Regions from separate parts of the Homo sapiens genome. Here region 1 is linked to region 2. Evidence: promoter capture Hi-C in 16 types of primary human blood cells and fetal thymus (Javierre and others, 2016). All regions are on one chromosome and are shown on one strand. The core of a region is centred on a gene start or on the middle of the fragment in contact, and the rest is flanking DNA. Distances in the headings are between cores, read along the strand shown.

Evidence for each region. The method cuts DNA at HindIII sites, captures the fragments that hold promoters and counts their contacts. A CHiCAGO score of 5 or more calls a contact.
Region 1: a contact is called between a fragment that was not itself captured here and the fragment with the promoter of EIF1AY in region 2, in 1 of 17 cell types (neutrophils). The highest score is 5.3, in neutrophils.

Annotation. Positions count from the first base shown.
Region 1 is chrY:20,920,864-20,926,428 of GRCh38, forward strand. No RefSeq gene overlaps it. Among named protein-coding and RNA genes, the nearest start is that of RPS4Y2, 170 kb to the left of the region's middle. The HindIII fragment of the contact is 8,728 bases long and covers 1-5,565 here.
Region 2 is chrY:20,572,349-20,577,598 of GRCh38, forward strand. EIF1AY (eukaryotic translation initiation factor 1A Y-linked) reads left to right here and starts at 3,428. Exons shown (of 7, transcript NM_004681.4): 1 at 3,428-3,539. The coding sequence starts at 3,524. TTTY10 (testis expressed transcript, Y-linked 10) reads right to left here and starts at 3,167. Exons shown (of 10, transcript NR_197944.1): 1 at 2,758-3,167. The HindIII fragment of the contact is 11,947 bases long and covers 1-5,250 here.

The DNA of each region.
Region 1 (5,565 bases), core at 1,416-3,915, 350 kb after region 2:
GTAGGTTGCTTGTTCACTCTGATGGTAGTTTCTTTTGCTGTGCAGAAGCTCTTTAGTTTAGATCTGTTAGATCCCATTTGTCAATTTTGGCTTCTGTTGCCATTGCTTTTTCTGTTTTAGACATGAAGTTCTTGCCCATGCCTATGTCCTGAATGGTATAGCCTAGGTTTTCTTCTAGGGTTTGTATGGTTTTAGGTCTCACATGTAAATCTTTAATCCATCTTGAGTTAACTTTTTTATAAGGTGTAAGGAAGGGATATAGTTTCAGCTTTCTACATATGGCTAGCCAGTTTTCTCAATACCATTTATTAAATAGGGAATCTTTTCCCCATTTCTTGTTTTTGTCAGGTTTGTCAAAGATCAGGTGGTTGTAGATATGCGGCTTTATTTCTGAGGGCTCTGTTCTGTTCCATTGATCTGTATCTCTCCTTTGGTAAGAGTACCATGCTGTTTTGGTTACTGTGGCCTTCTAGTATAGTTTGAAGTCAGGTAGCGTGATGCCTCCAACTTTGTTCTTTTGGCTTAGGATTGACTTGGCAATGAAGGCTCTTTTTTGGTTCAATATGAACTTTAAAGTAGTTTTTTCAATTCTGTGAAGAAATTCATTGGTAGCTTGATGGGGATGACATTGAATCTATAAATTACCTTGGGGACTATGGCCATTTTCATGATATTGATTCTTCCTACCCATGAGCATAGAATGTTCTTCCATTGGTTTGTATCCTCTTTTATTTCATTGAGTGGTGGTTTGTAGTTCTTCTTGAAGAGGTCTTTCTCATCCCTTTTAAGTTGGATTCCTAGGTATTTTATTCTCTTTGAAGCAATTGTGAATGGGAGTTCACTCAAGATTTAGTTCTCTGTCCGTTATTGGTGTATAAGAATACTTGTGATTTTATACATAGATTTTGTTTCCTGAGACTTTGCTGAAGTTGCTTATCAGCTTAAGGAGATTTTGGGCCAAGACAAAGGGGTTTTCTAGATATACAATCATGTCGTCCGCAAACAGGCACAATTTGAATTCCTCTTTTCCTAATTGAATACCCTTTATTTCCTTCTCCTACCTAACTGCCCTGGCCAGAACGTCCAACACTCTGTTGAATAGGAGTGTGGGTTTATCATAGATAGCTCTTATTATTTTGAGATATGCCCCATCAATACCTAATTTATTGAGAGTTTTTAGGATGAAGGCTTGTTGAATTTTGTCAAAGGCCTTTTCTGCATCTATTGATATAATCATATGGTTTTGTCTTTGGTTCTGTTTATATGCTGGATGCTGGATTACATTTATTGATTTGCATATGTTGAACCAGTGTTGCATCCCAGGGATGAAGCCCACTTGATCATGGTGGATAAGTTTTTGATGTGCTGCCGGATTTGGGTTGCTAGTATTTTATTGTGGATTTTTGCATCAATGTTCATCAAGGATATTGGTCTAAAATTCTCTTTTTTGTTGTGCCTCTGCCAGGCTTTGGTATCAGGATGATGCTTGCCTCTTAAAATGAGTTAGAGTGGATTCCCTCTTTTTCTATTGATTGGAATAGTTTCAGAAGGAATGGTACCAGCTCCTCCTAGTACCTCTCGTAGAATTCGGCTGTGAATCTACCTTGTCCTTTTTTTGTTGGTAAGCTATTGACAATTGCCACAATTTCAGAGCCTGTTATTGGTCTATTCAGAGATTCAACTTCTTCGTGGTTTTGTCTTGGGAGTGCATATGTGTCGAGGAATGTATCCATTTCTTCTAGATTTTCTAGTTTATTTGCATAGGGGTTTTTATAGTATTCTCTGATGGTAGTTTGTATTTCTGTGGGATCGGTGGTGATATCCCCTTTACCATTTTTTATTGTGTCTATTTGATTCTTCTCTATTTTCTTCTTTATTAGTCTTGTTAGCAGTCTATCAATTTTGTTGATCTTTCCAAAAAAACCAGCTCCTGGATTCATTAATTTTTTGAAGCGTTTTTTTTTTTTTTTTTTTGTCTCTATTTCCTTCAGTTCTGCTCTGATTTTAGTTATTTCTTGCCTTCTGCTAGCTTTTGAATGTGTTTGCTCTTGCTTCTCTAGTTCTTTTAATTGTGATTTTAGGGGGTCAATTTTGGATCTTTCCTGCTTTCTCTTGTGGGCATTTAGTGTTATAAATATCCCTCTACACACTGCTTTGAATGTGTCCCAAAGATTCTAGTATGTTGTTCTTTGTTCTCGTTGATTTCAAAGAACATCTTTATTTCTGCCTTCATTTTGTTATGTACCCAGTAGTCATTCAGGAGCAGGTTGTTCAGTTTCCATGTAGTTGAGTGGTTTTGAAGGAGTTTCTTAATCCTGAGTTGTAGTTTGATTGCACAGTGGTCTAAGAGACAGTTTGTTATAATTTCTGTTCTTTTACATTTGCTGAGGAGTGCTTTACTTCCAAGTATGTGGTCAATTTTGGAATAGGTGTAGTGTGGTGATGAAAAAAATGTATATTCTGTTGATTTGGTGTGGAGAGTTCTGTAGATGTCTATTAGGTCTGCTTGGTGCAGAACTGAGTTCAATTCCTGGGTATCTTTTTTAACTTTCTGTCTCATTGATCTGTCTAATGTTGACAGTGGAGTGTTAAAATCTCCCATTATTATTGTTTGGGAGTCTAACTGTCTTTCTAGGTCACTAAGGACTTGCTTTATGAATCTGGGTGCTCCTATATTGGGTGCATATATATTTAGGATAGTTAGCTCTTCTTGTTGAATTGATCCCTTTACGTAATTGCCTTCTTTGTCTCTTTTGATCTTTGTTGGTTTAAAATCTGTTTTATCAATGACTAGGATTGCAATCCCTGCCTTTTTTTGTTTTCCATTTGCTTGGCAGATCTTCCTCCATCCTTTTATTTTGAGCCTGTGTGTGTCTCTGCACGTGAGATGGGTTTCCTGAATACAGCACACTGATGGGTCTTGACTCTTAATTCAATTTGCCAGTCTGTGTCTTTTAATTGGAGCATTTAGTCCATTTACATTTAAAGTTAATATTGTTATGTGTGAATTTGATGCTGTCATCATGATGTTAGCTGGTTATTTTGCTCGTTAGTTGATGCAGTTTCTTCCTAGCCTCAATGGTCTTTACAATTTAGCATGATTTTGCAGTGGCTGGTACCAGTTTTTCCTTTCCACATTTAGTGCTTCCTTCAGGAGCACGTTTAGGACAGGCTGGTAGTGACAGAATTTCTCAGCATTTGCTTCTCTGTAAAGGATTTTATTTCTCCTTCACGTATGTAGCTTAGATTGGCTGGATATGAATTTCTGGGTTGAGAATTCTTTTCTTTAAGAATGTTGAATATTGGCCCCCACTCTCTTCTGGCTTGTAGAGTTTCTGCTGAGAGATCCACTGTTAGTCTGATGGGCTTCCCTTTGTGGGTAACCCGACCTTTCTCTCTGTCTGCCTTTAACATTTTTTCCTTCATTTCAACTTTGGTGAAGCTGACAATTATGTGTCTTGGAATTGCTCTTCTCGAGGAGTATCTTTGTGGCATTCTCTGTATTTTCTGAATCTGAATGTTGGCCTGCCTTGCTAGATTGGGGAAGTTCTCCTGGATAATATCCTGCAGAGTGTTTTCCAACTTGTTTCCATTCTCCCCATCACTTTCAGGTAAACCAATCAGATGTAGATTTGGTCTTTTCACATAGTCCTCTATTTCTTGGAGGCTTTGTTCATCTCTTTTTATTCTTTTTTCTCTAAACTTCCCTTCTCACTTCATTTCTTTGATTTTGTCTTCCATCACTGATAACCTTTCTTCCAGTTGATCACATTGGCTCCTGAGGCTTCTACATTCTTCACGTAGTTCTTGAGCCTTGGCTTTCAGCTGCATCAGCTCCTTTAAAGCATTCTCTGCATTGGTTATTCTAGTTATCCATTCATCTAATTTTTTTTACAGTTTTTAACTTCATTGCCATTGATTTGGATTTCCTCCTGTAGCTTGGAGTAGTTTGATCATCTGGAGCCTTCTTCTCTCAACTCATCAAAGTCATTCTCTGTCCAGTTTTGTTCTGTTGCTGGTGAGGAGCATCATTCTTTTTGAGGAGGAGAGGTGCTCTGCTTATTAGAGTTTCCAGTTTTTCTGTTCTGTTATTTCCCCATCTTTGTGGTTTTATCTACTTTTGGTCTTTGATGATGGTGACATACAGAAGGGTTTTTGGTATGGATGTCCTTTCTGTTTGTTAGTTTTCCTTCTAACAGACAGAACCCTCAGCTGCAGGTCTGTTGGAGTTTGCTAGAGGTCCACTCTAGACCCTGTTTGCCTGGGTATCAGCAGCAGTGGCTGCAGAACAGTGATTCCTGTAGAACAGCGGATCTTGGTGAATGCAAACGCTGCTGCCTGATCGTTCCTCTGGAAGTTTTGTCTCAGAGGAGTACCCGGCTGTGTGAGGTGTCAGTCTGCCCCTACGTGGGGGTGCCTCCCCGTTAGGCTGCTTTGGGGTCAGGGACCCACTTGAGGAGGCAGTCTGCCCATTCTCAGGTCTCCAGCTGCATGCTGGGAGAGCCACTACTCTCTTCAAAGCTCTCTGACAGGGACATTTAAGTCTGCAGAGGTTACTGCTGTCTGTTTGTTTTTCTGTGCCCTGCCCCCAGAGGTGGAGCCTACAGAGGCAGGCAGCCCTCCTTGAGCTGTGGTGGGCTCCACCCAGTTTGAGCTTCCTGGCTGCTTTGTTTATCTAATCAAGCCTAGACAATGGCTGCAGCCCCTCCCCCAGCCTCACTGCCGTCTTGCAGTTTGATCTCAGACTGCTGTGCTAGCAATCAGCTAGACTCTGTGGGCATAGTATCCTCTGAGCCAGGTGCAAGATATAATCTCCTGGTGTGCCATTTTTTAAGCCTGTTGGAAAAGCGTAGTGTTAGGGTGAGAGTGGCCCGATTTTCCAGGTGCTGTCTGTCACCCCTTTCTTTGACTAGGAAAGGGAACTCCCTGACTCCTTGCACTTCCTGAGTGAGGCAATGCCTGGCTCTGCTTTGGCTCATGCACGGTGCAGTGAACCCACATTCCTGCACCCCCTGTCTAGCACTCCCTAGTGAGATGAACCCAGTACCTCAGATAGAAGTGTAGAAATCACCCATCTTCTGCATCACTCACTCTGGGAGCTGTAGACAGGAGCTGTTCCTATTTGGCCATCTTGGCTCCACCCCCTTTCATTTTTTTTAACTGAGATTCTTGGATAGGTAGATTTGTGTTTAACAGTATATTTAGAAAGTTTCAACCATTTTTTATTCAAATATTCTTCCTATTCCTATCTCCTTTTCCTGTGAGACTCTTATTATGGATATGTTGATATGCTTGATGGTGTCCCATGGCTGACTTAGTTTTGCTTATTTTCCTTTATTGTTTTTCTTCTCTTATTCCTTAGACTGAATAATGCTAAACAGTTCATCTGCAATTTCCCTGATTATGGTTTCTGCCTGTTTATGCATCTTATTCAATCCCTCTAGTTAGAGGATATTGATTCCATTATTTAAAATTATGTATATGTATTCATTGGTATTCTGCATTTATTGAAAACTTGTTCTCCCAGCTTCCCTTAGGGCTTTGAGAACATTTAAGTAAAGTGAA
Region 2 (5,250 bases), core at 2,178-4,677:
CTTTTCCAGACACATGATGCAAGCTGCCTGAGGATCTACCATTCTGGGGTTTGGAGGATGGTGGTCCTTTTCTCATAGCTCCACTAGGCAGGGTCCAGTGGGAACTCTGTGTGGGACTTCCAATCCCACATTTCCCTTCCACACTGCCCTAGCAGAGGTTATCCCTGGGTGCTTCACCCTGAACAGACTTCTGCCTGGACTTCCAGGCATTTCCATATATCTCTGAAATTTAGGCAGAAGTTCCCAAGGTTCAACTCTTGTCTTCTGTGCATCCATAGGCCTAATACCATTGGCCTAACTGCCAAGGCTTGGGGCTTGCACCCTCTGAAGCAAAGACCCAAGCTGTACTTTGGCCCCTTTGGGCCACAGCTGAGGCTGGAGAGGCTGGAATGAAGGGTGCCAAGTCCCAAAGCTGCACAGGGCAGCACGACTCTGTGCCCAGCCCAAAAAACTATTTTTCTTCCTAGGCCTCTGGGCCTGTGATGAGAAGAGCTCCCTTGAAGATCTCTGACATGCCCTAGAGTAATTTTCCCCATTGTCATAGCTATTAACATTAAGCTCCTCATTAGTTATACGAATTTCTGCAGTCAGCTTTAATTTCTCTCCAGAAAATGCTGGGTTTTTTCGTCTTTTCTATCACATGGTCAGGCTGCAAATTTTCCTAACATTTATGGTCTGTTTCCCTTCTAAACATAAGTTCCAATTTCAAATCATATCTCTCAAATTCAAAGTTCCATAGGGCAGGAGCAAACTACCACCATTTGCTGTGCTAAAGCACAGCATGTGTTTCCTTTACTCCAGTTCCCAAGAAGTTCCTCATTTCCATCTGATACCATCTCAGCCTAGACTTCATTCTCCATGTCACTACCAGTATTTTGGTTAAAAAATTCAAGTCTTTAGAAAGTGCCAAAATTTCCCACATAATCCTGTCTTCTTCTAGGCCCTTCAAACTGTTCCAACCTCCCCCCATTACCCAGTTCCAAAGTTGATTCCACATTTTCAGGTTTTCCACAATACCCCATTCCTGGTACCAATTCTCTGTATTAGTCTGTTATCACACTACTCCAAAAATACAACCTGAGACTCGGTAATTCATTAAGAAAGGATGTTTAATTGACTCACAGTTCTGCATGGTTGGGGAGGATTCAGGAAACTTAAAATCACTGTAGAAGGTGAAGGGGAAGAAAGACACATCTTATATGGAGGCAGGAAGCTGAGAGAGTGAAACTGCAGAACATTTTTAAAACCATCAGCTGTTGTGAGAACTCCCTCACTATCATCAGAACAGCATGGGGGTAACTGACATCATAATCCAATAGCTTTGCATCAGGTCCCTCCCTTAACACATGGGGATTATAATTCCAGATGAGATTTGGATGGAGACACAAAGCCAAAGCATATCAACAACACAGCAGTATTTATCTAATGGACCTAGGAACTATCTCTTTGAAACGTAAACATAAAGAGAGAAGGTGCCCCTCTGTTTCCAGTTTCAGTAAAAGGTAAGAACTTAACCTCAGTAGGTGCTTTTCTCTGAACTGCAAAACAACCTCTTGAGATTAAAAATATGAGAAGTCAGTTTCTCTTCTGATTAAAGACAATTAGCTATATAACATGTGGTCCCCTGTTACCATTGTAAACTAAGGGTATGTGACAAATGGTGCCGTTAAATTTTCTTTATTAAAGACTACTGATCAACCAGTAATTTCTTTTAAGAAAATTTGTCTATCTTGAAGACTACCTTGATGCTTAGCTATATAAAAGGCGAGATTTGTTTTTGACTTTGTAATCTCTTGGTTGATTTTCTACAATGTACATTAAATTCATATTTCATATTTTTAACAGTAAAACTGATTTCATTCTCTACTGTCTTTGTGGAGAGGACTTCTGGGTTCAGAGAAAATTTTATTTTTAATGTTATGGCTTCATCACTAGGCTTTTAAAAACAAAACCATGAAGACTTAAATTCCTTAAAACCAGTAGTGATGATCAGGGTACTACCACTTACCTTGCAGAAAAAAAGAAAGAAAAAAAAAGGATTAGGAGGATACTACACTATGTATATGATGGCCAATTATATGCCCAACAAGTAAGATAATTTAGAATAAATGAACAAAGTCCTGATACATACATACTATTTACCTTGCAGAAAGGGAAAAAAAAGGATTAGGAAGATACTATACTTTGTATATGATGGCCAATTATACGCCCAACAAGTTTTATAATTTAGAATAAATGAACAAATTTCTGGTACATACAAACTACCAGAACTGACTTGGGAATAAATACAGCACGAATTCATAATCCAAACTAAGGCCTAGGACCATTTAAAAAATTTACATCAATCCTCGAATGTGTCCAAAAACACAGAAGAAAAAGGGACACTACACAGTTCATTCTGTGAAGCCGGGATTATATTGATCCTAAAGTCAAAGTCATCACACGATACAAGCCAATATATCTTAACACAGATGCTAAGATTCTAAACATAATAGTACACACACAACAAATCCAGTAAATTAAATGATTGTATACCATAATCAAATGGAATTTGTCTTGAAATAATTTGACCTCCACAGCCAGTCCATTTGAGACATTCGGTTAAGCCATGATTTATTATAAGATTCAGATGCTTAGTCTCACTCCTTCCTATGTATATTTACTTTCCATTTCCTGTATATATTTACTGTCTACTTTTTGTCAGTATTCCGCTGGGTGCTAGCAATTGTAAGCAACAGATGCGGCCTCTGTACTTACATGCTTTACTGTGAGGTGGTGAGGTAGAGAAGATAAGACTGAAAAAAATAGGCCGGGCGCGGTGGCTCACTACTGCAATCCCAGGAATTTGGGCGGCAGAGGCGGGAGGATCACTAGGTCAGGGGTTTGAGAGCCTGGCCAACATGGTGAAACCCCATCTCTACTAAAAATACAAAAATTAGACGGGCAGATCGCGCCCCTGCACTCCAGCATGGGCAACAAGAGCGAAACTTCGTTGTCAAAAAAAAAAAAAAAAAAGAGAGAAAAGTGATAAACATTCTGAACATAGAGGGCCTTGTCCTAAGCCAGTCCTCCAAATTCACTGTATAAGAGTAAGGGCTCTCTTAAAATTTAGGCGTTTACAGTTAAATGACCCACGAACTTCTGAAACTGGAAGACCGTTTTTTAGCAAAGGAGAATACTCCAGGGCCCCGCCCATTTCATCCTTGACTCCACCTTCTCCATGCTGAGTCCCGCCCCGCTTCCTGTTTATTCATCCTGCAGCAAACTCTCCGGTATCCTGATGGAGTCTACTAGGTGTCAGTCATTTGGCCGTGCCTCAGCCGAAGAGAGGCGGGGAAAAGCATCGTAATCAGCTGCGTCGCCTTTTGGTGACGCCAGAGAGTGCGCGTCAGCAGTTTATTAGAGAGCTCTGTAGCCAGCCTCTTCTGCGCACCCACCTGCTGCATCTTAGTTCAGTCGGCTCTTAGAGTAGTAACCGCCAGAAAGGAGTCGGAAGAGGTCTCACGAGGCTGTCATCACCGCCATGCCCAAGAATAAAGGTACTGCTGTAAGCCTCTGGGACTATACCTCGGCTTGCTCTGCCAGTAACCCCGACGCCTGTTCCAGGCCGCAGTGACTGTTCTAACGGCGGTACTGGCCACTGCGACCCCAGCACTGTGTTCGGGAAAGGAGCTGGGAATGCCCTATTTGGTCACATTGGGGTGGGACAGACGCCATTTTTGTGGGGCCTCCTTCGGAAGATAGCGGGCTTTTGCTGCTGATTTCACGCCAGACGGAAAACGTATAGGTAGGGACGGTTGAGGGACCTTAACCGGACGGCCTGGCTTTCCAGAATAGGCACATGCAAACACTTCCCTGCTACTTTCCTGGAAGCGGTTCTTAACTTTGAAGACTTACCTATCTGGACAGTTAAAAGTATTGCTAAGGATACTCCCTTTTCCTTGTTAAACAGTGGGGAAGCCTTGAAGCATGTTTAGGTTCATTTCTGGCGTTTTACTCTACCCCATCCCTTTATAGAGTGTAACATTCTTTTGCAGAAGATTTGTTACCTATTTAGGCAGGTTTTCAACTTCCGTATCCGATAAATATTGTGGGAGTAAAGATATCAACGTTCCCTTCATTCTGAGGCTAAACTTTCACACGAAACTTAGACTTGAAAATAAGTTTACTCACAGCTTCTAAAGTAGGAGGTCTAACCTCGGTAGAACCCTTTCTCAGTCATTTCTGAAAGAAATTCTCGTTTTTATACACCTGAGGTAATCTCTCACTTTTAGTGCCCTTGTAATTGCTTGAAGAAAACTGTAGGTGGAAACAAAATATTATTTTCCACAGGAGGGGACCATGTTTTATAGTCCACAAAAACTCTGTTTAGATTATTCCTTCCTGGGACCCAGACCAATTTGTCTTCTTTTTACTTGCCTGTTGGCAGCATGGAATCTGTTTCATTTTCTCTTTTTAGCTGTCACGACACACAGCTCTTGAGGTACTTGGTGACAGTACAGTGCAGTCTTTCCTGGGCATTACTCTTTGCTCTCCCGAAAACCCACTAACGGGTTGTGTGTATAATAAGGTTTTATTTTATTTTATTTTATTTTTTACTGCAAAATTATTGGAGGATAAAGTGTATTCTGGGAGAAGTCTAATTAGAAAGAGTTAGCAAAGGCTTATGCTTTTTCACTAACATTTTCTCAGATGGTACTGAACAACTTCAGTAGGTATCTTGTTCTCACCTTTATTTCTAGTGATGAGATTCCCAGTTCTCTAAGCCATCAGCTCTAAAGATCAGAGTATCTCCCTTTGCAAAATGTCCATTAAATCTTTGCTGATGTTATTATCCCTGTACCTGACTCTATCCTTAAATAGTAAGGCTTCCTTTATTCTTGTAGGGTAGAACTTTTAAACTGAGTGATGCCTAAAAATGTTCTCAATAAAGAGAGTATCTCCAAAACACGTCGGATTTGTTTAAAGAGGAAGTGTGGATTTTTTGATCTTAGAAAGGAAACGAGATAAAATATTAAACGACTTTAATTTTTGTATGATCATGCCTAGCCTCATTCCTCTAAAATATAATTTAAAGTGGATTCTGTTACATGGTATCACAATAGAAGGGGAATGATCAGGGTTTGGTTAATCCTGGTAAATTGAAAACAATTTTTTTTTTATCATATGTGCCTCAGAAGGCACACAAAAGAAGTATAGTGGCCGGGCGCGGTGGCTCACGCGTGTAATCCCAGCACCTTGGAGGCCAAG